Regions from separate parts of the Homo sapiens genome. Here regions 1, 2, 3, 4, 5 and 7 are each linked to region 6. Evidence: promoter capture Hi-C in 16 types of primary human blood cells and fetal thymus (Javierre and others, 2016). All regions are on one chromosome and are shown on one strand. Each heading gives the region's core, a stretch centred on a gene start or on the middle of the fragment in contact. The rest is flanking DNA. Distances are from core to core; before and after follow the strand shown. Region 1 has its middle 18 kb from the start of CAVIN4. Region 2 has its middle 120 kb from the start of CAVIN4. Region 3 overlaps BAAT (bile acid-CoA:amino acid N-acyltransferase). Region 4 overlaps MRPL50 (mitochondrial ribosomal protein L50). Region 5 overlaps PLPPR1 (phospholipid phosphatase related 1). Region 6 holds the start of NIPSNAP3A (nipsnap homolog 3A). Region 7 holds the start of ALDOB (aldolase, fructose-bisphosphate B).

The links. Contacts are between HindIII fragments. The CHiCAGO score rates a contact against its expected background, and 5 or more counts as called.
Region 1: a contact is called between a fragment that was not itself captured here and the fragment with the promoter of NIPSNAP3A in region 6, in 3 of 17 cell types (total CD8 T cells, non-activated CD4 T cells and naive CD4 T cells). The highest score is 6.7, in total CD8 T cells.
Region 2: a contact is called between a fragment that was not itself captured here and the fragment with the promoter of NIPSNAP3A in region 6, in 1 of 17 cell types (neutrophils). The highest score is 5.1, in neutrophils.
Region 3: a fragment that was not itself captured here is called in contact with the fragment with the promoter of NIPSNAP3A in region 6 in 5 of 17 cell types (total CD4 T cells, non-activated CD4 T cells, naive CD8 T cells and 2 more); the score reaches 11.0 in total CD4 T cells.
Region 4: a contact is called between a fragment that was not itself captured here and the fragment with the promoter of NIPSNAP3A in region 6, in 16 of 17 cell types (total CD4 T cells, non-activated CD4 T cells, total CD8 T cells and 13 more). The highest score is 37.0, in total CD4 T cells.
Region 5: a fragment that was not itself captured here is called in contact with the fragment with the promoter of NIPSNAP3A in region 6 in 1 of 17 cell types (total CD4 T cells); the score reaches 7.5 in total CD4 T cells.
Region 7: a contact is called between the fragment with the promoter of ALDOB here and the fragment with the promoter of NIPSNAP3A in region 6, in 4 of 17 cell types (naive CD8 T cells, naive B cells, naive CD4 T cells and 1 more). The highest score is 11.7, in naive CD8 T cells.

What each region holds. Positions count from the first base shown.
Region 1 is chr9:100,594,607-100,598,223 of GRCh38, forward strand. No RefSeq gene overlaps it. Among named protein-coding and RNA genes, the nearest start is that of CAVIN4, 18 kb to the left of the region's middle. The HindIII fragment of the contact is 747 bases long and covers 1,680-2,426 here.
Region 2 is chr9:100,700,214-100,703,610 of GRCh38, forward strand. No RefSeq gene overlaps it. Among named protein-coding and RNA genes, the nearest start is that of CAVIN4, 120 kb to the left of the region's middle. The HindIII fragment of the contact is 1,146 bases long and covers 1,573-2,718 here.
Region 3 is chr9:101,379,913-101,383,274 of GRCh38, forward strand. All of the region lies in intron 1 of BAAT (bile acid-CoA:amino acid N-acyltransferase), which reads right to left. Among named protein-coding and RNA genes, the nearest start is that of BAAT, 3.4 kb to the right of the region's middle. The HindIII fragment of the contact is 1,306 bases long and covers 598-1,903 here.
Region 4 is chr9:101,394,939-101,398,614 of GRCh38, forward strand. MRPL50 (mitochondrial ribosomal protein L50) reads right to left here. Exons shown (of 2, transcript NM_019051.3): 1 at 3,563-3,676. The coding sequence starts at 3,654. Among named protein-coding and RNA genes, the nearest start is that of MRPL50, 1.8 kb to the right of the region's middle. RefSeq lists enhancers at 2,793-3,322, 3,323-3,676, 3,384-3,676. The HindIII fragment of the contact is 2,255 bases long and covers 1,300-3,554 here.
Region 5 is chr9:101,312,110-101,315,497 of GRCh38, forward strand. It overlaps PLPPR1 (phospholipid phosphatase related 1), which reads left to right. Exons shown (of 8, transcript NM_207299.2): 6 at 689-865. Among named protein-coding and RNA genes, the nearest start is that of BAAT, 71 kb to the right of the region's middle. The HindIII fragment of the contact is 2,018 bases long and covers 294-2,311 here.
Region 6 is chr9:104,746,307-104,749,926 of GRCh38, forward strand. NIPSNAP3A (nipsnap homolog 3A) reads left to right here and starts at 1,377. Exons shown (of 6, transcript NM_015469.3): 1 at 1,377-1,546. The coding sequence starts at 1,487. It overlaps LOC107987105 (a long non-coding RNA gene), which reads right to left and starts at 1,333. Exons shown (of 5, transcript XR_007061705.1): 1 at 1,143-1,333. RefSeq lists a silencer at 1,271-1,360 and an enhancer at 1,781-1,940. The HindIII fragment of the contact is 7,745 bases long and covers 1-3,620 here.
Region 7 is chr9:101,433,863-101,437,163 of GRCh38, forward strand. ALDOB (aldolase, fructose-bisphosphate B) reads right to left here and starts at 1,912. Exons shown (of 9, transcript NM_000035.4): 1 at 1,847-1,912. The HindIII fragment of the contact is 11,270 bases long and covers 1,832-3,301 here.

The DNA of each region.
Region 1 (3,617 bases), core at 803-3,302, 4.2 Mb before region 6:
CGCCCTCCTTGGCCTTCCAAAGTGCTGGGATTACAGGCATGAGCTACCGTGCCCGGCTTTTTTTTTTTTTTTTTTTTTTTTTTTAAGGCGGGGCTTGCTCTGTTGCCCAGGCTGGATTGCAATGGTGCAATCATAGCTCACTATAGCTTCCATCTCCTAAGCTCAAGTGATCCTCCCACCTCAGCCTCCCAAGTAGCTGGGACCGCTGGGACCACAGGCACATGCCCACCATGCCTGGCTATTTTTTTTTTCTTTATTTTTAATAGAGATGAGGTCCACTATGTTGCCCAGGCTGGTCTCACATTCCTGAGCTCAAGCAATCCTCCCTCCTTGGCCTCCCAAAGTGCTGAGATTACAGTCATGAACCACCACACCTGGCCCAAATATCTCTCTCTTTGTAAAGCCTTTTAAAATTGTGTGTGCATTCTCTCTGAGATTCTGTAAGTGCAAAGGACTTACTGTGTTTCTCATTAATAAGATAATAGGTATTTAATAAGTATCTACTGAATGAAAACAAATGAATGCCTCTTTGAACTATGGCCTCTTCTCTGAATATCTTTGAATTAGGATCATTTATTTGATGAGTATTTTTTTGAGCACCTCATGTAAGCCTGGCACTCTTCTGGGAGTAAAGTAGTGAACAGAGCCCTTGCTTTCAGAGATTCCAGAGAAAGACTAGTAACTAGCAAATATAGTTATGTTAGGTGGTGATAAGTGCTGTGAAGAAGAAGTCAGGTAAGGGGGCAGGGCATTATGAGTGGGGGTGGTGCAGGCTGCCACTATTTTAGAAAGGGTGTCTGGGAAGGCCTCTGGTAAGGTGACCAGAATGTTTGAATCTGATAGTCAATCATTCAGGTGTTTCTAGGAAGAGTTTCAGTTGTGTTCAGGAGACAGTGTGGTTGAAATGGGTGAGGTGGGAAATGTGGGAGCAGTGGGGTGTCACAGGCTGTTCTAAGGACTTTGGGTTTTACTCTGAATAAGAAGGGGACCCATGGGAACGTGTTAATAAGAACGACATGATCCAATTTATTGTATTTATACTCATTGAAAAAATCCAGCCATTGTGTTCATACAAAAAGCTAACTACAGTTCCTGCCTTAGTTTACACTGCAAAGGAAATCACCCAAACTCCCAAGAGTTTTCCATTCCATGTCCGCTCCCCAAGCCTCACTGCAGCTCAAGGCTGACATCTAGTGGATATTTTCATAATTGTTTATGCACAGGCAGTTTGGAACCTATCCACTGTTGATTAAGAATAGAGGGGGAGGTTTAACATAGAAAATGACAAACTGGATGATTAGTAGAATACTATAGTGGATTTGCCTCTGTTTTTCTTTGGCTCTTATTCAGGTAAATTTACATTTATCTAGCATATATTAGCATGTATTAATTAGAACTGGGTTCAGCTGCCAGAGATTAGAGCATCAAAATCATGGGTTGGTAAGGAGGAGAAAAAGTATCAGGTGGGATGAGCCAGGAGAAAGTGTCCTGGTTCTAGTGGTGGCCCTCAAAAGGTAGCTGTGGTTTGTTGTATGGTGTTAAGGGTGTGTGTATTCCAAACCTGTGCTTGCATCAGGTTGGCATTGATTTACAAAGGGAGTCTACTGCGAAGGGCATGGTGGAATGAAGTTGAAGGCAGCATGGAGATACTGAAAGTTGTGAAGTTGAGTGTTTCCAAAAGCTTAGGTGGGGTATTTCAATGTACAATCAAGAGCTTTAGCTTTATAACTGGAAAATTGGCTTGTGTCTGCCATTTACTGACTGTGAGAACTTGGGCAAATTATATTATCTGAACCCAGTTTCTAAATAGTACCCACCTAAAGGTGTTATATTAAGCCAGATATTTTATGGAAAGCACTTAGCAAACTTAGCATTTAGTAAGCAGTCAAAAATAGGTGTTATTGTTTAGAGGGACTACAAGTAGCCTCTAGAGATAGAGAAGGAGGCTATTGTAATAGTGGTATCTGCATTGCATTTTTTTTTTTGCCCCTAGCATTTAACATTAACAGAATTTAACTTGAAACCATTTTGTAGATGTATATGATCCATTTTATCGACTTTGATTGTGGGCAGTTGCATATTCTGCTTAACTAAGACATAGCATTTTTACTACACAGAGATCACAATCATCCAGTGGCTTTCATAACTTTTAGGAAAAAAAGGCTCAAATATGAGCTCTGCAAGATCTGGCTCCTGCGTGCCTAACTTCATCCTCATCTCTTATTCTTCCTCCTCAGTTTCTGCATTCCAGAGACTGGCCTCTCAGGTCCTCCAATGCCTTATCCCACCTGTCTTAGGACCTTTGCATAGGCAATTCCATTTGCCTGTCCACACTCTTCCCACTCCCCTCCCAACCAACTAAGAATACACCTAGTTAACTTCTATTCATCTTTCAGATTCCATTGAAAATGATACTTCTTCAGGAAAGCTTTCCCTGCCTCTACGTCACTCCCTGACAGGGAAAGCCTCCCCTGTTACACAATAAGAACACTTATTGTAGTTTAAAAATATATATTTAGGTGGTTATTCACTCAGCTAGATTGTAAACCTCTTGAGCACTGGCACCGTGTCTGCTCAGCCCATTGCTCTGTCCCTGCCATGGTGCCTCAGATAGAGTAGTCTGAAAAGGGAGGGATTTTATTTGAAAGTTAAAATGTAGAAATAGATAAAACACTTGGTGACCGAGTATGAGGGATGTAGTGGGTTCTATGGTGACAATCACATTCCCTCTAAGACTTGGCACTCATCCCTCCAGATGCTGGGAGTTTTGACGGCTGATGGCTCTCGCCCAAGTCTGTCTCCAGGAATTGCCCTCAGCAGAGAAAGCCACCTCACCCAAGGTCATGCCCCCTCCTGAGAGCAGCCCACATTGAGTGACGGGTTGACTGAGGGATATGTGTGTGGCTTCTGGCTTCAGCGTGGAACAGCTCTGAAGGACCTTCCTGGGTCCAGAGCTTGCCATAGCATTGGCTGAGGCCCCGGTTTAAACCTCACTAAGTGTTCAACTCCTTGTCTCTGTCCTTCATCCTTCAGCCCTCACAGGTGCTGTTCATGAGAGCATCACTCAATAAGCCACCTACAATATCTCTGAGTCTGTTTCCTAGGGAAGCCAGCCCACAGCTGGGCATGATGGAGAGGGAGGAGTCTAAGGTGGCTCCTGGATTTCTGGCTTGAGACAGCACATGATGTTATCCAGTGAGAAGAGGGACAAAGAAGAAAGTGTACAGAAGTTGAAGCAGGTTTGCTGGAAAAGATATGTTTTGGGGGTGCTAAGTCTGAGGTGCCTGTGGGATAGCCAGGAGTTTGAAGCTCAGAGGAAAGATCTAGACTAGAGGTACAGATTTGGGAGTCATCAGCAAGGCAAAAACAATGGCATTAAGGAGATCTTCACCCCATAAAAGTGTGGAGTGTGAAAAAAAAACAACTAACCAGGAAGCATGTGTGTGGGAGCCAACAGAAATGGGCAGGGGAAGGAAGACACACTTCTGGCAAATATAGTGATCAGAGAGTTTGGAAAACCGGGAGTGTGAGCATTGTGGATGACAGAGGGATTTGCAGCAGTTTCAGATAGATGTGTCAGGAGCTGCAGAGAGAGCAGCATGGAAAAGTGTTCATTG
Region 2 (3,397 bases), core at 896-3,395, 4.0 Mb before region 6:
GGTACAGTTGTTTGTTTATAAGGGATGCATTTATCTCAAGAATTGGTTTCCTCTGTCATTCTCAGCAAACTAACACAGGAACAGAAAACCAAACACCACATGTTCTCACTCATAGGTGGGAGCTGAGCAATGAAAACACATGGACACAGGGAGGGGAACATCACACACCAGGGCCTATCGGGGGTGGGGGGCTAGGGGAGGGATAGCATTAAGAGAAATACCTAATGTAGATGATGGGTTGATGGGTGCAGCAAACCACCATGGCACATGTATACCTATGTAACAAACCTGGACGTTCTGCACGTGTACCCCAGAACTTAAAGTATAATAATTAAAAAAAAAAAGACCTGGACTTTAAGGTCAAATAGATGTGGATTTAAATCTAGCTCCCTGATCTGCAGATGCTTATTTGTGAAATTAATATAAGTCCTATTTTTCAGAGTTGTTATGAAGATACAATAAAAAAGGTATCTAAAAAAAATTGGTTTCCTCCTAAGAAGTAAATCTTCATGGCCCTCTATATTTAACACACCTCTACATTGTTTAAACAGCAGAGGGCGCCCTATTGACAGCAAACTTACACCCAACAGCGGGGACCAAATGGTCTCAGGGGTGTGTGTACCCTTAATCTACCTCTGCATATACCTTCAGTGAACTCAGAGTGGAATCTGGCTCCGCAGGTCAGGGTAGGAGACAAGGTAAAATTAGAGAGCTGTGGAGGAGGGGTGAAACAGTGTGGGGTCATGGTGAATGAAGCCCATGGACTTAGGGCACATGATTGCAGATTCAAATTCCAGCATTGCTTCTTACTAGCTCTGTGTCCTTGAGTTATTTGTCCTCCCTTCAGTTTCCTTATTAATACAGTGGTGATAGATACTTGTTTGTAAAGCCCTTGGCCCAATGCCTGGCCTATGCGAATTACCCAATAAATATTAACTTAAAAAAAAAAAAGCAAGCAAGTAAACACTCTCAGGTTCTGACTAGGAGAAGATAGAAGCAGAAAATGAGCAGGGAGCCTATTCGCCCACAAGCCTGGAATGACTCATTCTGGAAAATGTTACACAGACTAAGGATTGATATATATGCTCATTTACTGATTTTAAACAATCCTTTATTGGTTGCAAATAGGTTTTGCTTATTTTATAATTGTTTTCCATTTATTTGGGAGGTGCTGGTACTTTTTCACACCAAAATGATTTGACAGTGTAAAATTCTAAAATAGAAGTCTGAAATCATACTATGAAATAATTCTTTTTTTTTCAGGGAGTAATTGGATATGACCAAGAAAAACAGCTAATTTAAAGAAAAGTGATGTAAACTATTGGGACATCTTTCTAAACCTCGCTTCAGATTTTGGGGTTTGAAGATGCAAAGGAAATGGCTCCTCGTCATTCTTCAATTTGAATGATGGGGACCTCCCTTGACATAGTTGATAGAATTTCAGAGCAGGAAGTGTCCTTAAGGGTCTCACACTTTAATAAGTACCCTTACCCACCCCTTCCGCCCCCCACACTCCCCACCCAATTAAATAAATATCTCTTGGTGTGAGGCTAGGTTATCAGCACTGTTACAAGCTTCTCATGCAATTCTTATATGCAACGGTACTGTGAACCTTTGATCTATGCCCATCATTTTACAGCTGGGGAAAGTACTTTTTGCTAGTGGGGAAGATATTTGCCTATCCTCCAAGCAGCCTTCAAAATGATGGTCTTAAAACAGAAATTTAGCAGATTAAAAGCCCTCAATGCCCTCTCTGCTCTCCCATCTCTCTCCAGCTTTCAGGACAAAGTTCAGGACTTCCAGTTAAATCACAATTCCTTTCAGTATTTGCCTCAGTTTTTCTATTCCCCTTACCTCACTTCCTACACCCTTCTCTCTAGTCAGGCCCAACTGCTTGCAGTTCTGGAATGTGGGGTGGCGCTGCCCAGTGTCATATCTTAACAAATGCCTTTCCTTCCTCCTGCTAGGCTGTCTTTATCTCTTTCTTCATTTTCAAAATGCAGCTCAAGCTGAGACATCCAAGTAGTGAGGGAAAGAGGGAGCATTAGTGGTTGATATCCTGTGTCAAAACATCGTGGATTTTTTTTTTTTTAAAGACTGGGAAAGTTCCTCGAGATTCTCTAAGTTCAAGCTCAGACGCTTTCAGGGCTAGGCTGGTATCGTAAATGTGTGAAGGAAAACCGGATATGAGACAAAAAGGTGACAGGACCCTGGCCATCTGGAGAGCAGGTGTCCCATTTAAAGGTGATTAAATTCAACTTTTTGAGAAGCACTGAACGTTCAGCCCAGGAGCTACCAATTTGCCACCCCTCCAATCACCCTGGTTTACAGAGAAACTGAGAGCCCATGTGAGTCAGCTGAGGACTTGGTTGTATACAGCAACGGGAGAGCCCAGGCCTTCTGAATCCAGGTTCAATCTTCTTCATAGCATGCAATAAACCTTTGGCACATTTTCCTTCTCAATTTTATTGCATTTATTCCACATAATAATAAAGACCAACATTTATACAATGGTATACAATTAGTAAAAAAGAGCCCTCGCTTTATTTTAAAAACTGCAGATCAGGAAGGTGCTATAGAAACATGTATATTACTTCCTGTTGGACTTCTTGTCTACAGAGGCAGAAGGCAACCTTCATTAGGTCTGCCTGGAAGCCGGTCTCAGCTCCAGTGATATTCTAGTCTGAGACCATGTAGGGGGCAAGTGAATCCTTGCCAAGCTTCTCTCCCCACTCACAGTTACTGTGCAATGAAATCTTATCTCTGATGTCTGATTTATGGATTACCCTCTCTAGGCTGCCTGGATGGATTTTATCCCTTAAGGATTATTAAAAATAAAAACATCTTGCCGGGCGCGGTGGCTCACGCCTATAATCCCAGCACTTTGGGAGGCCGAGGCGGGCGGATCACGAGGTCAGGAGATTGAGACCATCCTGGCTAACACGGTGAAACCCCGTCTCTACTAAAAATACAAAAACAATTCTCCGGGCGTGGTGGTGGGCGCCTGTAGTCCCAGCTACTCGGGAGGCGGAGGCAGGAGAATGGTGTGAACCCGGGAGACGGAGCTTGCAGTGAGCTGAGATCACGCCACTGCACTCCAGCCTGGGCGACAGAGCTACATCCGTCTCAAAAATAAATAAATAAATAAATACAAACATCTTACCTAGCCTTATTTTCTAGAAGAAAGAGGTTTGTTCAACCAGACAAAAGTATACACTGAAATGTCAGTGTTATCCTCCTATGTGACCGAGACGGAGGCTGAACATTTTCTCTGGCTTGGTGGATCGCTCCTGTACTGGCTGGGTACCTAAAGCATCCCCTTTGGGAGAGAGGAAAGGCTTTGCTCTCACACGTGGACACCCTGGGCTCATTGGTCTGCTTCAGGGGTCACGGTCCA
Region 3 (3,362 bases), core at 1-2,500, 3.4 Mb before region 6:
AAATCATGGTACTCCAAAGACTAGAGATGATTCAAGAAAGCCTATGCATTTTTTCTCATCTGAAATCCCACTGGGCCTGATCTGTTTCCCATTGCCAGTGCACTGCTGCTAAAGCTGTACAATATCAAGCACCCTTCCTCTAAACTCAAAGACCATTGAAGAAGAGGACAGTGTGTGAGATTCTAAAAGCCCAATTAGAAAGCTGGAGTGTGGAGGTTATAGCAACTCCATCTTGAATTCTAATCTGCCAGTTGACATCTGATTAATCCCACTTCTAGGAATGCCTTTAAGATTTCTGCCTTATCTACTATCTCTTGTATAAGAGCACCTACCATAAATCCTACCCTTAGGCAAATTCCTACATATTCCTGCTGAAGCATGTATATCCTTTCCCTATGGTATATCAACCCTGGGTCTGGGGAGTAACAGTGAGGGGATCCTTTGTCTCACAGCTGCCTGAGACACAGCTTCTGTTTGTAAGCCCCTATTAAATGTTTCTCTCTGAGAAACTGTTTTGTCACTCTCTTTGTTCAGTGTCTCAGCTCCCTTGGCCTTTGGGGGTAGGTTTGCACAGACCTGCTCACTTACCACAGAGCAAGCTTACTCACAGCATGGTGGCTGGGTTGGAAGGGCAAGCAACACAAGAGAGAAAAAGCTAGGTAGAAGCTGTATCCTTTTTATATCCTAGCACTGGAAATCACATAGCATAATCTCTGCCATTTAATAGCAGCCACAAGCTCCCATCAAAATTCAAGTGGAGAAAATGTTGATACCTATTAACAGTAGGAGATATGTCAATCACATTGTAAAATTTTTTTAAGTGGATGAAACGTGTATGTGTATTTGCTTTTTATTTTTTAAGATGGAGTCTTGCTCTGTCGCCCAGGCTGGAGTGCAGTGGTGCAATCTTGGCTCACTGCAATCTCCACTTCCCAGTTCAAGTGATTCTCCTGCCTCAGCCTCCCGAGTAGCTGGGATTACAGGCACCCACCACCATGCCTGGCCAATTTTTTTGTGTTTTTTTAGTAGAGATGGGGTTTCAGCATGTTGGTCAGGCTGGTCTCAAACTCCTGACCTCAAATGATCCGCCTGCCTCAGCCTCCCAAAGTGCTGGGATTACAGGCATGAGCCACCGCACCTGGCTGTGTGTGTGTATTTGTATGTGTATTTGTGTATACATTTTTGGGAAATGCAATCTGCCACAAGAGGAAAGGAGGAATAAAGGAGCAAATAATAAATGGGATGAATGGAAATGGGAGTTTAAACCCACACATATCAATAATTACGTTAAATACAAACAGATCAAACACTCCAATTAGAAGACACAGGCCAGGCGTGGTGACTCATGCCTGTAATCCTAGCACTTTGGGAGGCTGAGGTATGAGGACCGGTTGATCCCAGGAGGTTGAGACCAGCCTGGGCAACATAGTGAGATCCCATCTCTACAAAAAAAAAGTAAAAATTAGCTGGGTGTGGTGGGGCAAACTTGTAGTCCCAGCTGCTTGAGAGGCTGAGGCAGAAGAATTGCTTGAGCCCAAGAGGTCAAGGATGCAGTGAGCTGTGATCATGCCACTGGGTGAAAGAGCTGACTCCACCTTGGGTGAAAGAGCTGAAATCCTATCTCTAAAATAAATACATACATAAAAATAAAAAAGAAGACAGATTGTCAAACTAATTGAAAAAGCAAGTGGTTATTTTTCAGAAACACATTGTCAAAAAAAGACAGATTGAAAGTAAAAGAAAATATATGCAACAGTGTTTGTGTTGCATATATGTGTATATATAGATGAGAGATGAGACAGACACAGACATAAATACATGCTGACAAGAATGAGCCTACAGAGAGAGAAGTCCTGAGAATGATAATTCAGTGGTGAGTAAACATTGAATATGTTTCCTGAGAAGCTTAAAAATAAGTGATACTATAGCTTCCAAGTACCGTATTTCATTTGTTTTCTTGTAATCAAGAAATTGAGTACTTAAGATCATACAGAAATACATGAGAGTCAGAAATGGAATCTACATTTCCAACTCTTAGTCAAATTGATTAGTACTTCAAAAAGAATTTATCAAGAGTCTACATGTCATAGTCACTGACAGATAAGATGCAGTTCCTACTCTAAATAAGCTTAAGGTATAGTATTTCTTCTACATATTGTTACAGTAGGTAGCTAGTCATGCATGAGTGGGGCAGGAGAGGGTTGCCCCCACCCACCAGAATGTCAGGTGACTATCAGGTGATGGTCACTCTGCTTCTCTAAAATAACAATTGGTCACAGCCAGCACCAGGGAGAGGCAGTTTCTCAACTGATAAAAACACCTGAAATTGATAATTGGCAGCTTTCAGGAACTGGGCGAATGAGCTCAAACATGCACATTAAGAGTCAAAATGGCAGAGTATGACCTTCCAGGGGCATTCCACCAGAATTTGAAAGAAAGCCTCAGATAAGCATGCATAAAACTCCAGTAAACACACTGTGCATGCCCACATCCCAAGCACAAGCAGGGCACCATGCATGTGGGTGGCTCCCCATAACCCTTAAGGGAAGGATGAAGGGAAAGGGGTGCAAGATGCCAGAAGTAGGCCAGCATATAAAATCCTAGGTTCAAGGATGAACGAGGCACTTGACCTCCAAGATGCCTGCTTGGGTCTCTCCCAAGTGTGTTTTCCTTTCTTTCCTGTTCTAAAGCTTTTTAATAAACTTCTGCTCCTGCTCTGAAACTTGCCTTGGTCTCTTTTACTGCCTTATGCCCCTCAGTTGAATTCTTTCTTTCGAGGAGGCAAGAAATGAGATTGCTGCAGACCCATACAGATTTGCCACCAGTAACTCAGATATTCACCACCCCTAACAATATTATCCATTCAATTTATTTCTATACAAATATCACATGCATCAACCAGCGTGCCCAAACAGAAATAAGTCAATTAGAAAGTCATTAACTTTAGCTCAAACTTATACTTGCTTTTTTTGGTATTTTTTAACATTACATTTCACTACCAGAAAGCATTCCTGAATTGCATAAATAGGTATAACATATATTCAAAGCTTCAAGAAATATTTTCACAGAATCTAATTCTAACATGGCATTAGTCTTACATTAAAAGAAAATTACCCTTCAAACAAAATATAAATAGGACCACAGTACAGTTTCCCAGAATAGGAGGGCTTATTCTATAAAATTCTAGGCAATAGTCTTTTAAAAGAGGGAGAAATATTGATGGGGATGGGGAAGACAGAATAAAGAAATTTTAACAAATGACTTCTGATAGCCTTTCATTTTCCTCAGAAATATAAATTTCAGCTCAATATCATCATAATAGCAAGTCCCTACTGACATCCTTTCTAAGCAAATCAAAATGA
Region 4 (3,676 bases), core at 1,177-3,676, 3.4 Mb before region 6:
ATCAAACTAAAAAGCTTCTGCATAGCAAAGGCAACAATAAACAAAGTGAACAGGCAACCTAGAGAATAGGAGAAAAATTGGCAAACTATCCAACAAGGGATTAATAACCAGAATATACAAGGAACCCAAACAACTCAGTAACAACAACAAAAAAAACCTGATTTAAAAATAGCAAAAGATCTGAATACATATTTCTCAAAGAAGATATACAATGACCAACAGGTATATAAAAAAAATGATCTCTAATCATCAGGGAAATGCAACTCAATAACACAATGAGGTATTATCTCACCTGAGTTAAAATGACTATTATTTAAAAGACAAAAAATAACAAATGCTGGCAAGGATGTAAAGGGGAATACCAGTACACTGTTGGTGGGAATGTAAATTAGTACAACTGCTATGGAGAAAAGCATGGAAATTTCCCAAAGAAATTAAAAATAAAATTACCATATGATCTGGCAATCCCACTGCTGGGTATACATCCAAAAGAAAGTTAATCAGTCTAACAGAGATATCTGTACTCCATGTTTATTACAGCACTATTCACAATAGCCAAGATATGGAATCAAACTAAGTTTCTACCAATGGATGAATGGATATTAAAAAAACCGTACATATACTCAATGGAATATTATTCAGCCATTAAAAAAGGATGAAATCCTGTCATTTGCAGTAACATGGATGAAACTGGAGGACACTCTTTAGTGAAATAAGCCAGGTGCAGAAAGACAGATATCGCATGTTCTCGCTCCTATGTGTGAACCAAAAAAAAAAAAAAGACCTCATGGAGGTAGTAATAAATTGATGGTTACCAGAGGCTGGGAAGGGTAGTGAGGAGGTAAGGTATGAAGACAGATTGGTTAGAAATACAGTTAAAAGGAGTAATACAGTTAGAGAAGAGGACTACAGCTAAAAAGAGTAAGTTCTAGTGTTTGATTTCACAATTGGGTGACTATAGTTAGTAGTAATTTATTTGTATTTCAAAATAGCTAGAAGTGAAGATTTAGAATGTTCCCAAAACAAAGAGATAAATAACGTGATGGATACGTCAACTATTCAGATTTGGCTATTACACATTGTATGCTTGCATCAAAATATCACATGTACCCCATAAATATCTACAACTATTATGCATCCATAAACATTAAAAAAAAATTACAAATAAACATCACCTCATACCCATTAGGATGGTCATTACCAAAAAGACAAGTGTGGTGAGGACATGGAAAAAACGGCACCCTTATATGCTGCTGGTGGGAATGAATATTGGCATAGCCATTATAAAAAACAGTATTAAGCTTCCTCAAAAGTTATAAACAGAACTATCCTAACTATCCTAAGATCTAGCAATCTTACTACTCGGTATATATCCAAAGGAAATGAAAGCAGTATCTCAAAGAGACATCTGCACTCTCATCTTCATTGCAGCATGTGTGTATACATGTAAATGTATACATGTATACACACACATACACAATATTTAAGGCTGAATAAAATGCCATAAGTGTGTCTATATGTATATGTGTACCTATGTATGAATATATGTATATATTATGTGCTTGCATATATACACACACAAAAAATGGCATTTTATTCAGCCTTAAAAAAGGATATTTGTAACACATGGATGAACCTGGAAAATATTATGCTAAGAGAAATAAGCCAGACAGAGTAATACCACATGATCTCACTTATATGTAGTATCTAAAAAGTCAAATTAGGCCGGGTTTAGTGGCTCACGCCTGTAATCCCAGCACTTTGGGAGGCTGAGGTAGGTGGATCATGAGGTCAAGAGATCGAGACCATTCTGGCCAACATGGAGAAACCCTGTCTCTACTAAAAATAAAAAAATTAGCCGGGCGTGGTGGCGGGCACCTGTAGTCCCAGCTACTCGGGAGGCTGAGGCAGGAGAATCGCTTGAACCTGGGAGGCGGAGGTTGCAGTGAGCCAAGATAGCGCCACTGCACTCCAGCCTGGAGACAGAGTGAGACTCCATCTCCAACACAAACAAAAAAAAAGTCAAATTCATAGAAACAGAGAGTAGGATGGTGGCTACCAGGGGTGGCGGAAATGAAGAGACGTTGGACAAAGGTAAAATTTAAATTATGTAGAATGAATAAGTTCCAGAGATCTAATGTACACCATGGTGACGATCATTAATAATACTGTACTGTATACTTGAAATCTTCTGAGAGTAAATCTTAAGTGTTTTCACCACACACACAAAAATTCTAACTGGCCAGGTGTGGTGGCTCACCCCTGGAATCCCAGCAATTTGGGAGGCCAAGGTGGGAAAATTACTTGAGTCCAGGAGTTCAAGACCAGCCTGTGCAACATAGTGAGAACTCCTTTCTCTAAAACAAAACAAAACAGAAAGTATGTGAAGAGATGAATATGATAATTATCTTGACTAATAATCAACATCAAGTTGTATATCTTAAATATATAAAATTTTTAAAATAGTAAAGAAAATATAATCATCATTCTCAGTAATCTATTTCCTCTAGTTTTCTTCATAATTTACCACTTTCTGAAATTACATTACACATTTGTTCATTTCTTCCTCCATTAGAACATATGCCCTACGAGAACAAAAATTTGGTCTGTTTTAGTAACCACTGTATTCTTACAACACCTAAGATATAGCCTGGCATATAGTAAACAGCCTAAAAAATATTTGTTGAGTGAATGAATAAAACAAACTTGGAAGAGATTTGAGAGATAATAACAAATATTGACCAAAGAAGAGGGAAAGCTAATATCTGAACTGATGAAAAAGATCTTTCCTAATTGTAGTGGTTTTTGTTTTAAACCTAAGAGAGCATACATTGCTCCCTAGGGTTCCTACCATACGTTTTGATTTCCTAAACACTATCTAAGTCAAATTAGATTTACCTTCAAACAATTACACATGGTGCAGCCGTGCAGCAGAAAAAGCAGTAGATGGGGAGTTAGGAGACATATGTTCTAGATCCAGCTTTGCAATTAACTTGCTTTGTGACTTTGGGAAAATCACTTCCCTCCTGTGGGCCTGTTTCCTCATATGTTGGAGTACCTCGAGGATGAGAATGGATTTTGTTTTTCCTGCTGTATCCTAGGCGCTTAGAGTAATGCTGGCCCTAAGAAATCTGTTGAATGACTGAATGAATGAACAAACAAAAGGAGGAGGCAGTACTTCATTACTGAACCTTGCTTGTGAAGAAACACAGCCGGCAAATGAGTTTAGTTTACCAAGCGCTTTCATGTGTTTGCAGACAACACACTCGGTGTCTCGCACACGAGGTTAATCCTGCTTGCTTAATAAATAAATGAATGAGTGAAGTGAAAAGGAAAGGGGGTGGTATTTCCGTTATAAAATGAGAAAACTAAGGCCGAGAGTGGAAGAGACTGGGTCCCACCACTCAATGAGTGCTTCTCAACTCGGGACCCTAACCGGACCTCCTTGTCCTTGCTCTGATCAGGCGCGGGACCACGATGGCGTAACACTCTATTTTGAATTCGTCCCTAATCCTCCTTAACTTTCCTTGAACATGACCCACCGTCCACCATAAAGCTTTACCTGAATCGAGACCAAAATTCTCTACATGGTGTCCCTGAGACTGTCCACATGAAGACTCTTCTGGTAATGCCCGACACAGATCGCGCCGCCATCTTCGATGAGATCCACGGGCCT
Region 5 (3,388 bases), core at 53-2,552, 3.4 Mb before region 6:
AACACACAGAAAATTTTAATATTTTAAGAAACAGTGGAGTAAATGAATGAATAAAGCTGATCACAGCTGTCCTGAGGAATGTATGAGTCAATTTACTAGCACAGCTGAAACCTATTTATGTGATGCAGTTGTTGGGAGGTTCTAATTCAGCCTATCAACTAACTCATCAGTCAACACTTTGTTGGTATTAATCACCTGAAGGTGTGACAAAGCAACTAGGAACTTTTGGGGACACAAAAAATAAAATGTACGGTCACTTACAGTCACTCTCCTACCTGGTCTTCTCCACCAAAAGCTTCATTCCCATAGAAGGTTTATTTGGTATCTCAGACTCTCATATGGATTTCTTATACCCCAAATGATATTTAAACTTGTCACATAAAAACTGCATGTTCTGAATCTAATCGTTAATGCGTTCTTTGTGTCACTAATAACTTCTGTTGACATGTCCACTAGATTACAAAAGACTGAAGAATGTACATCTGTTCATTGTTCTTGCTGCACTGATTTCCTACCTAAATAATTTATTAAATATCTTAATGGAGTTGTTCAAGGAATACTAGTTAGTGTGGTTGCTTTGACACAAGCCCCTGCTTGTGTATGCTGGTGTATGTACCTGCTTGCTTGCATGTGTACTCATAGCACAAGGCAGCTGCCTGGTCACTCCCTGGCCTCTGTCCTATTCCAGATGTATATTACAAGCACAATCAAGACGAAGAGCAGTCGACTGGCCAAGCCGGTGCTGTGCCTCGGAACTCTCTGCACAGCCTTCCTGACAGGCCTCAACCGGGTCTCTGAGTATCGGAACCACTGCTCGGACGTGATTGCTGGTTTCATCCTGGGCACTGCAGTGGCCCTGTTTCTGGTAGGTTGACTTCCCTCTTTTTACCTTTTCCCCCTCTTCTACTCTCTGAAAAACTGTGAGTCAGGTTTCCCAGACTTCACCATCTGTGTTCCTTTCGTCCCAACCTTGTGAATTACAATTATTCTCCAAGTATTATACATGCTTTTGCTACAAAAATGATTTCAAAACACTCTTTCCTTTCAGAAACTGGATTGCCAAATTCCTTCTGGGTGGCAGGGAGAGAATTGCCCCTAGAAGTACAGCTGGCTCTACCCCTTTCAACACTGGGCTTGGGACTGGGGCCAAGCAGACTAATGATAAATTGGCACACCTTCAAACCAATCTTCTCTAAGTATTTGTTCTCAGCATATTGGGGGCAAAAGCTAAGTGTTCCTTGAGGGAAGAATAGAGAATGAAGAGCACTGGTAGAAGCAAGCAGCCTCTTCTCCAGCATCCCAAGAAACTCAACTCTAATTCCAAAGTTGCATCTCCTACTCGGAAATTTTAAAAACCCTGCAGATGATCACACCCGCCCTTTTTAGTGGGCCTCTGTTACTATTGGAACATGCCTCTTGGGAATCTTACTTCCGCTAAACTGGCTTCTCAACCACCTATCTTCCTGGAGAAGAGTTTTGGTTAATACATTTTTCTTGTATTTCTGATTATGTTTTAGTTCCCCAAATAGATGGAGGTCTGGCCACCTGCTCACCTAGGAAATCCCTTAAATTGAGTTGGAGTTGATAAAAAGAGGTTAATTTTTATTCTTTTTGCCTTCTCTTTCACGGTTGTATTGAAGTATAATAGGTATACAATAAATGACACATCAAGTATACAATTTGATCAATTTTGGCATACAACTTTCTCACCCTTCCTTTTCCCTTATCCCCAGGCAACTGGTGATCTTCTGTCATTCTATATTAGTTTGCCTTTTCTACGATTTCATATTAATTGAATCATAATGTATTTTTTCAGGTATCTTTCACCTAGCATAATTATTTTGAGATTCATCTATGTTGTAGAATGTATCCATAATTCCTTTTTATTGCTGTGTAGTATTCCATTGCATGGTCACACCTCAGAGATGCAGATTTCTATTATCTTCAAGGACTTAAAACAGGCCCAGAAAAATTTATGATGAATCATCAGGCCTGGAGACTTATACTGTGCATGAAATGAATCCCCTAACAATGTTCAGGAAGCCTCCCCAAGGAGAAAGAAGCCATCACAGTCTTGTAGGACCTCCCTCCTCCTATTCTGCCCTCTCTGGTCCAAGATCCATTTGGATTGGCATCACACATAGCTGGATTTCAGTCATAGGACTTAACACACTTCCTTTTCCTAGCCCCTCTTCCTTCCCTCCCCAATATGCAAAATACACACATGCCTCTCCCAGCCTCTAACTTGGTTTTCCAACTTGTAAAAAATCTAAGATACAGACAATGCTCACATTCAGAACATTGATTGGGAAGCTTCTTTCTAATTCAAAATGACAGGCATATCTCAGAGATAATGCAGCTTTGGTTCCAGACCATTGCAACAGTGAATATCACAGTAAAGCTAGGCACACAATTTTTTGGTTTCCCAGTGCATATAAAAAGTTATGTTTACATTATTCTGTAGTCTATTAAGTGTGCAATAGCATTATGTCTAAAAAAAAAAAAACCAATGCAGTTACCTTAATTTAAAAGCACTTTATGGCTTTAAAAAAGTGTTGACGCAGACACAAAGTGAGCATGTGCTGTTGAAAAAATGGTGCCAATAGACTTGCTGGACAGTGTTGTCAAAAAGCTTCAATTTAAAAAAAAAAAAAATATCTGCAACATGCAATAAAGTGAAGAGAAATAAAACAAAAATGTGCCAGTATTTTGAATGGATCCAGGCATTCTTCCTATAGTGAAAGATGAAAAACTAAAATGCAAATACTCTGGATGAAGTTGCAGGAAAAGCAGTGCTGAAGTCATCATAAAATCTTGATATCTCATTAGGAACTTTCCTGAGGAACGCCTTTTAAAAACATTTTATGGATACATAGAAGTTACACATGTTTCGGGGGTATGTGTGATATTTTGATACAAGCATACAATGTATAATGATCAAATCTGGGTAACTGGGATATCCATCACCTCAAATACTGTTACTTTGTGTTAAGAACATTCCAAATCTATTCCATTTATTTTGAAATATACAGTAAATTATTGTTAATTATTGTCACTCTACTGTTATAGTGAGCAGGCCTCATTTTTTCCATCTGACTGTATTTTTGTACTGATTAACCAACTCCTCTTCCCCCTATCGCCTACTACCATTCCTGAGGAATTTTTTTAAGAAGGAAAGAAAACAGGTGACTTGAAGGGAAGAGAAGGGTTTCAAAGGGAGATCAATGGTGTATAAATAGACTTTGGCTCAAGAAAAGACAAACAATGTTGCTGACCATCAGTTCTAAAGCCGCCATCCCCAGTTAGAGAGGAAGAGCCATTCTGACTGTTCCAAGCAATTTTGTAGGGTCTTTGTGGGATGATATTGGGGTTTGCTGAAGCCCCATAC
Region 6 (3,620 bases), core at 127-2,626:
CCAAGTCAATAGCTAGAATCCTGACCACTTTTAGAATTCCACTAGCACCTTTATTCGTATCTTACTTTATTTTTCTTTATATTATTTGACAATCCCTGATATATTTACTCTTCCTTTTTTTATCTGTTTCCTCCATCCTGGATGTTCCAAGAGGACGGGACTTTGAATTTTGCTCAATTCTGTACCCCAGTTTCTGGAAAAGTGCCTGGAACATGGAAGGAATTTAGTAAATATCTGTTGAATAAGTAAATGGATTGGCAATTACAGGGTTTAAAAAAAAAGGTCTAAGAAAATAATTTACTCATATAGATCCAGTCCTGATACAAATGATTTTTTTAGTCTTGCATGGTTACAAATAGATGTCTCTCTTCTAGAAAAACTGAGGCAACCCTTCCGAAATAACTAATTTTAAAAAGTCTCCCTTCCTTTGAACAGACAATTCCAAAGCTCTTCCACAAGGCACAACCAATACAACCCAGGTCATGGCCCTGCAATCCCTCCCTAGTCCTCATGATGTAAGCAATATTACATTAATGTTTACAATAATGTAATTATTAGCAAGAATAATGTAAACATTAATATAGATTACTGTAAATTAATAGTGTAATTAATTACTGTAAATTAACATAAGCATTATTAGATGCAGGAAGACAAGTGAATTTGGGGGCAGTGGCATCTATGAGACATAAATCCTCATCTGCCACAGAAGGAAGTCAACACATACTATCCATAACTGAAAATGCAATAAACAGCAGAAAACACTACTTACTTAAAAATACAGAAACAAGCATTAAATGAAACAGCTTGAAATGTTGAAGGTGGTTACTCTGGGAACCAACACTCCCGGACTGGGAGGACTAGACCAGGGTATGTTTAACTTTGACTTTTTCATTTCAGGCTCGATGCTGCCATTTCTCTGAGCTCGTGGAAAATTTAATCTAAATCTTAATTAGGAGCCTTCTAAGATGGAGAACACATTCATTGCAGAGAGGTCAGGCTCAAATACACGTCTATCACAACATCTAAAACTTAACTCGGAAAAAACCTCCACGATTTTAAATACAAAGCACTGCACATGCACGCACTCAACACCTCTCCTTCTTTCCCCATGGTCAACACACCCACAACCCCTGCACATTTACCAATCTACACAACTGAGCACTGGAGCGAATGAGGTGAGTGAGGGCCCAGAAAGTTGAAGCAGGAACGATCCGAGCCTTCAGTTAATCCTAACGTCACCTCTAACGTTTGGGGTAAGAACGTTTCAGGAAACCAAGGGGGAACCAACGCTCAGCACAGCAGAGAAAGACACCAAGCTACGGGACCCGCCGCGCCTCCCGCGCCGGGGTGGAGCTGACCCCGCCGAGCCCCGCCCCAGCCTGCGTCTGCCAATGATCCAGGAGCCGCTCCTTTCCACTCGGGAAACCTTCAGAGGAGTCTCAGAAAGGACACGGCTGGCTGCTTTTCTCAGCGCCGAAGCCGCGCCATGCTCGTCCTCAGAAGCGCCCTGACTCGGGCGCTGGCCTCACGGACGCTGGCGCCTCAGGTACCGGCCACGGGGGTACCCAAGCCTTCACCCGACGGGAGGGGAGGGGCGGGGCGGGGAGTGTTCCGGGTACGTGCGAGCAATGCGCATGCGCTCTCCGCCACGCGCGCCCAGACCTGGGGCCCCGGTGAGGTTCTAGCGTGAGCCCCGGAACCCCAAGACAGGGGTACCCGGAACGCGCGTGAGGAGGAGGCCGCTGCTAGGGGAATACCCCCAGCCGGGGTCGTCTCGCGGGCAGTGGTGGTCAGAAGGCTTTTCTAGCCTGGATGCCACACCCACCGGGACACTCCCATGGCGCCGGCTGTTTCGTTTTTGCTGCCCAGCTATGTCGCGGCTGCGGCCCAGCGAGCGCTCCCATGTTGTCACCTGGCGCTGTGGAGCCGCGGGTGGAGTCGTAGCTTTCCAAGCCACCGCCCTCTCTAGACATCAGGTTGAAGGAGGGAATTGTCAACCAGCCGCTTGCCACGGAACCGGCCTCCCCCTTTTAAATGAAGCACACAACTTCCGAGCATTTCGCGGAGACCCTTGAAGAGGAGGCCCAGGGTCCCGGTGGGGCTGGACCCTGCCCGCCACCCGCGCTTCGTGTGGTCGCTCCCCCAACCAGGCGGGACCGGAGCCTCCTATCAAACCGGACGATGACAGACAGACTCTTTTAACCTTAGATGAGAAATGGACAAAATGGAGCTTGTGATTCTGCCCTAACTTTCGGGAGTGGCCTATTCTGTGGCTTCAACCTAGAAATTTCTTTTCCTTTTGATGTTTAGGACTTTACTCCTTTCTGAAGGGGCAGGATGGGAAGGGGATTAACCTGTCCTAGAGACAGACTGAGGAGCACTAAAGAAGAGCAGCTCATGTCCATTCACCCCGGGTTAACAATGCAGTTTTTACCCTAATGATTCTCCAGTGGGGCAGGGCCAGGAATGACGTCCTTATGGCATGATTCCAAACTTTAAGTTTTTAGAAATGTCCATCAGTTGTTCTCTTTTAAGTGAAGTGGAGGTCGTTGCTGGTGGGAATGATCCCTAACTTGGAGATAAGGGAGGATGGACGACTCATGATTTCTGCCCTAGCAGCTAAAAGTCATCCCTGCAACAAAATTCTTAACTCCCATCCGGCTCCCCCACCATACCCGGCTCCCCTGCAGTCTTCCTTCTCTGGCACCACCTGTCCACATCTCTCTCCCTCTCTCACTGTAGGTTCCCTACTGTATATTAATACTGCCCAAAATTGTAAAAATGTGTACCTTTGATCAACTATTTTATCCTCCAAATACAAATTCCTCGAATCAACCTGAAATCCATTTGTCACAAATGCCCCATTGGCCTATCTCCTGATATATTTTATTATAATAATTTTGAAATTATGGATACTAGGCACTTGCTTCTTGACCAACATTGTTACTAGAGTTTGGTTTAAAAGCACAAAAAGAGTGTCCACAAAAGGCAGGGGCAGCTGCAGCTGTTTTTGTTGGTAGGCTTAGTCATTTGAGCAATAAGAATATAAGTCACACACGAATAGAATTAACTCTAGATAATTATCATTAAGCCTTATCATACACAGTTACATAATTTTGTATTTTGTAAACAAAAATATGTCGGAGCAAAAGCCTACTGCTTTCAGACAGACATACTGGCTAGTCAGTATAAGCCCTAATTTGTCCATAGCTTTGTAGGTATCAAAACTGTCTTCACAGATTATTCTGGTGTAATCAACTTAAGGAAATGGCACATGCTATTCAAACTTAAGTAAGATGGATTTATAAGAATATCACGAATGCCTGTGTGTATACCATGAGTGCATATATATATGTGTGTGTGCGTATGTGTGTGTGTATGTGTATACATATATACACATAGATACCTACATAGAGGATAATCTTAGGCGAGGTATTTCTTACAGAAAGTTCAACCAGAACACAAATTAGAAATTTACAGTGCGTGTATGACTATTACAAAAGGAATTAATGGTTCTTAAGTGATATTTTCATCAATGTGGTATAAGTGGATTCATTAAATGTTGTTCACATTGCATCTGTAATTAGAAACTAATAAGAAAATTTTGACTCTGAATTTTC
Region 7 (3,301 bases), core at 662-3,161, 3.3 Mb before region 6:
GGGCTCAAGTGATCTTCCCACCTCAGACACCAAGCAGCTGAAACTACAGGCGCCTGCCACCATGCCCAGCTATTTTTTTTTTTATTTTTGGTATAAACAAAGTCTTGCTATGTTGCCCAGGCTTGTCTTGAACTCCTGAGTTCACGCGATCCTCCCACCTTGGCCTCGCAAAGTGCTGGGATTACAGGCATGAGCCACTGCACCCGGCCACATTTCATTTTATACATTCTTTATCACGCACTTTATTACATATGTGTAACAAGTAATATGTATATAAATCTGGAGGAAAGTTGTATTAACAACAGAAGGTAACCACAGAAAAACAGAGCTACAAATGACCTCAGAGATACCTGCGTCAACCCTGTCACTTTAGAGATGAGGAAACTAAAGCCAGAGAGACTATGTCTGATGTGCCTTCTAAGTTGTGATGTTCTAGGATTGCAAGTTACATCCTATTGGCTTATGACTTAGAATTCTATTTCTAATCCTTCAGCAAAATAGCAGGTAGAATCCTATGGTATGGTTCTTTCTGCCTTCCTTGAAGATGTTCTGTGAAAACATAATTATTTGTAACATGGATATTTAATTCCTGGAGAAATAGAAGGCAGCAGAAAGTTCATTTGCTTCTCTATGTACAAGACAAATGGATTTTTAAGGCAAATATGAGGAGGCTTATTTATTGATAGCCCATGATTTCTAGGCACTGCATGCAGCACTTTTGTACATGATGCTTAAAGCTGCCAATAGCTTCATTATCCACCCCAATGTCCCAGTGACAAGTGCAGTGGGATGATCTAGGGCAGTCCTAGGACAGCCTGATTTCCAGTGCCCTTTAACACACGCGGAGCAGCCCAGAACGAGTCCTGAATGGTGCTCTTTCCTCTAAACTTGGAATGAAGCCAAAGGACCTCTTAGATATTCAACATTTCCCCATTCCCTGCCCCAGTATCTCTGGCTCTAACCTGGGCCTGGGTGCTACCCAGATGTGCCTTAGCTAAAGTGATGAATAGCAGGGTAGCAGAGTTCAAGCTCTGGTGCATCCAAATTGTCTAATGGAGCCCTAGGTAACTATTTAAAGAGAAGTTATTTTTTAAAAAGGCAACATATTCTCACAATGCCTATTTTTCAGATAGTAGAGCAAATGTATCAAAATACACAACCTTTTGATTCCTACTATCTTAAGCTGTAGGGTCTTCACAGTGTCTGGGGCCAGCAGGAAATGTTCTAGAAAGTGTCAAACATGAAGGGTTTGGAAATTCATAATCAAATGATGACTATGCTCTGTGAAGTTTCCAACCCTGTTGCATTTCCTCATTTGAGCAGTGGGTGAAGGCGAAGGGCAAAATACTCCAAGGGTTTGTTTCTGTGACAAAGAAACTTCAGTGTCGGTACCAGTAGGTGTGGGAAGAGAATGTAGAAAATGACATAAGGCAGTAGATATGTAAATAAATCACTAAAATAAGTAGTTGTTATGAAAAGAGAGTTGAGAGTTGAAATGAACAGGAATCTCAAAAACTGATTAGAACCTAACGATAGGAGTGTTCAAGTTGTTTTTCCTAGATCAGAGACTCACAAGGGCCTCATTCAGGTAACACAAGTAACTGGCAATCAATCTTGGGCATTTTGCCACCTCTCAAAAAGTCAGGAAAGGTGTGAATGAGCATTTATACTTAGAGAGAGGAAAACAAGCATTTCCCTCCAAGCAGAGCCATCATGTTTTCAGCCACCATCAAGTTTTTCCCGAAAACAAAGGCAAACCAATCTTCCCTTCTATAAGCTTAGTAGTATTATTAACCCCTTATTCACTGGTGCTGTCCAGGTATACAAAGGAAGCTTTTTTACTTACAGTTTGGGAGAGAAGAGTCCTCCTAGATATCAAAAGCTGTGGGTGAGGCAGCAGCTGCCAAATAAGACAGATCTTTGGTAGCACACAATTTTTATAGACTTCTCATCATGTTTTTTTTTTCCAATATTTGCCCTCCCCTTTCTACCTTGACCTAGTAGGGAGGTGTTTATTCAACACCTCTGATTGGCTCATAAACAACCAGTCCTTAAAATCATGCCCATATACTCCTTATGCTCATAGAATGTTAAAGCTGCAAGGAATGTCTTTAGACCGTGGAGTTCCTAATCCAGACCCTCCATTTCACAGATGAGGAAACTAAGGCAAGGAAGATAAGGAGGTTCCCTTAAGTCATACAGCTAGTCAATGATGGAGCTCTAGGGTCCATTAAATGATACTAGGAAGAATGTTAGTGTAGCTGTAACACTTACAAAACACATGAACTTGGTGACGGGTTTTTGGTTTTGTTTTTTACTTGTCTGAGCCGTTATTTTCTTCTCTGTAAAGTGGGATCTCAATTTCACAGGAGCATTAAGTGAGTTGTATAGTGTCTGTACGCAGTAGGCATTCAAGAATTATTATTTCCAAATTAGGTAATCAATGCTATATTTTCATTATTTATCTTCAGTATATCATTAGTAGTCAATTCCAACAATTTATTCTATAATTTATAGTTAAATTTAAATAATCTTTCAATAAAAGAAATTGATTCTGAATCCTTGAATTTCCCATGTGTGAATTTTGTCCAAATTGGAAATAAAATTCAAAACATTCTGTTTTTAAAAATCATTGTCTCTCCCATCTTCTCCAGTCCTCCAAAACCTAGCTGGGCTTTCTGATGTATTTAATGCCAGAAATCATTGTTTTGTATTCCCATTCTCTTTTAACCTTTGTACTTTTGTCTTCAAATTTGGTTAAAAACTAGAATTAAAGTGATTGAACTAAGCCATCAACACCCCTAAATATGGTACTGTCTGGGTATGGGTTCATTCTGCAGGGCTTTTTCCTAAGTATGAAACCCAAATTTAATTCCAGAAAAGGTAAATAAAAATATTATATGCTTCCAGAGGCAAATGATGAATGAGGCAAATAAATGAGGGAAATCTAAAAGTGATGGAATGACCGTAATTACAAAAAAGGGTAAATTCTCATGAACATGTTCCTCTGGAATAATTCATAAAATGGAAAACAAAACTAAGATGCTTGATTGTGCAGAGTGTAACACCAGAATTTATGGATGAAAAGGTGAAATGTCAACAAAATGAAGGAAAAAATAAACGGAACTAGGTGATCTAAAAAGAGTTTTGGTTTAGTTTTGGTTGTTTTTCCTAGATCAGAGACTCACAAGGGCCTCATTCAGGTAACACAAGTAACTGGCAATCAATCTTGGGCATTTTGCCACCTCTCAAAAAGCCAGGAAAGGTGTGAATGAGCATTTATACTTAGAGAGAGGAAAAC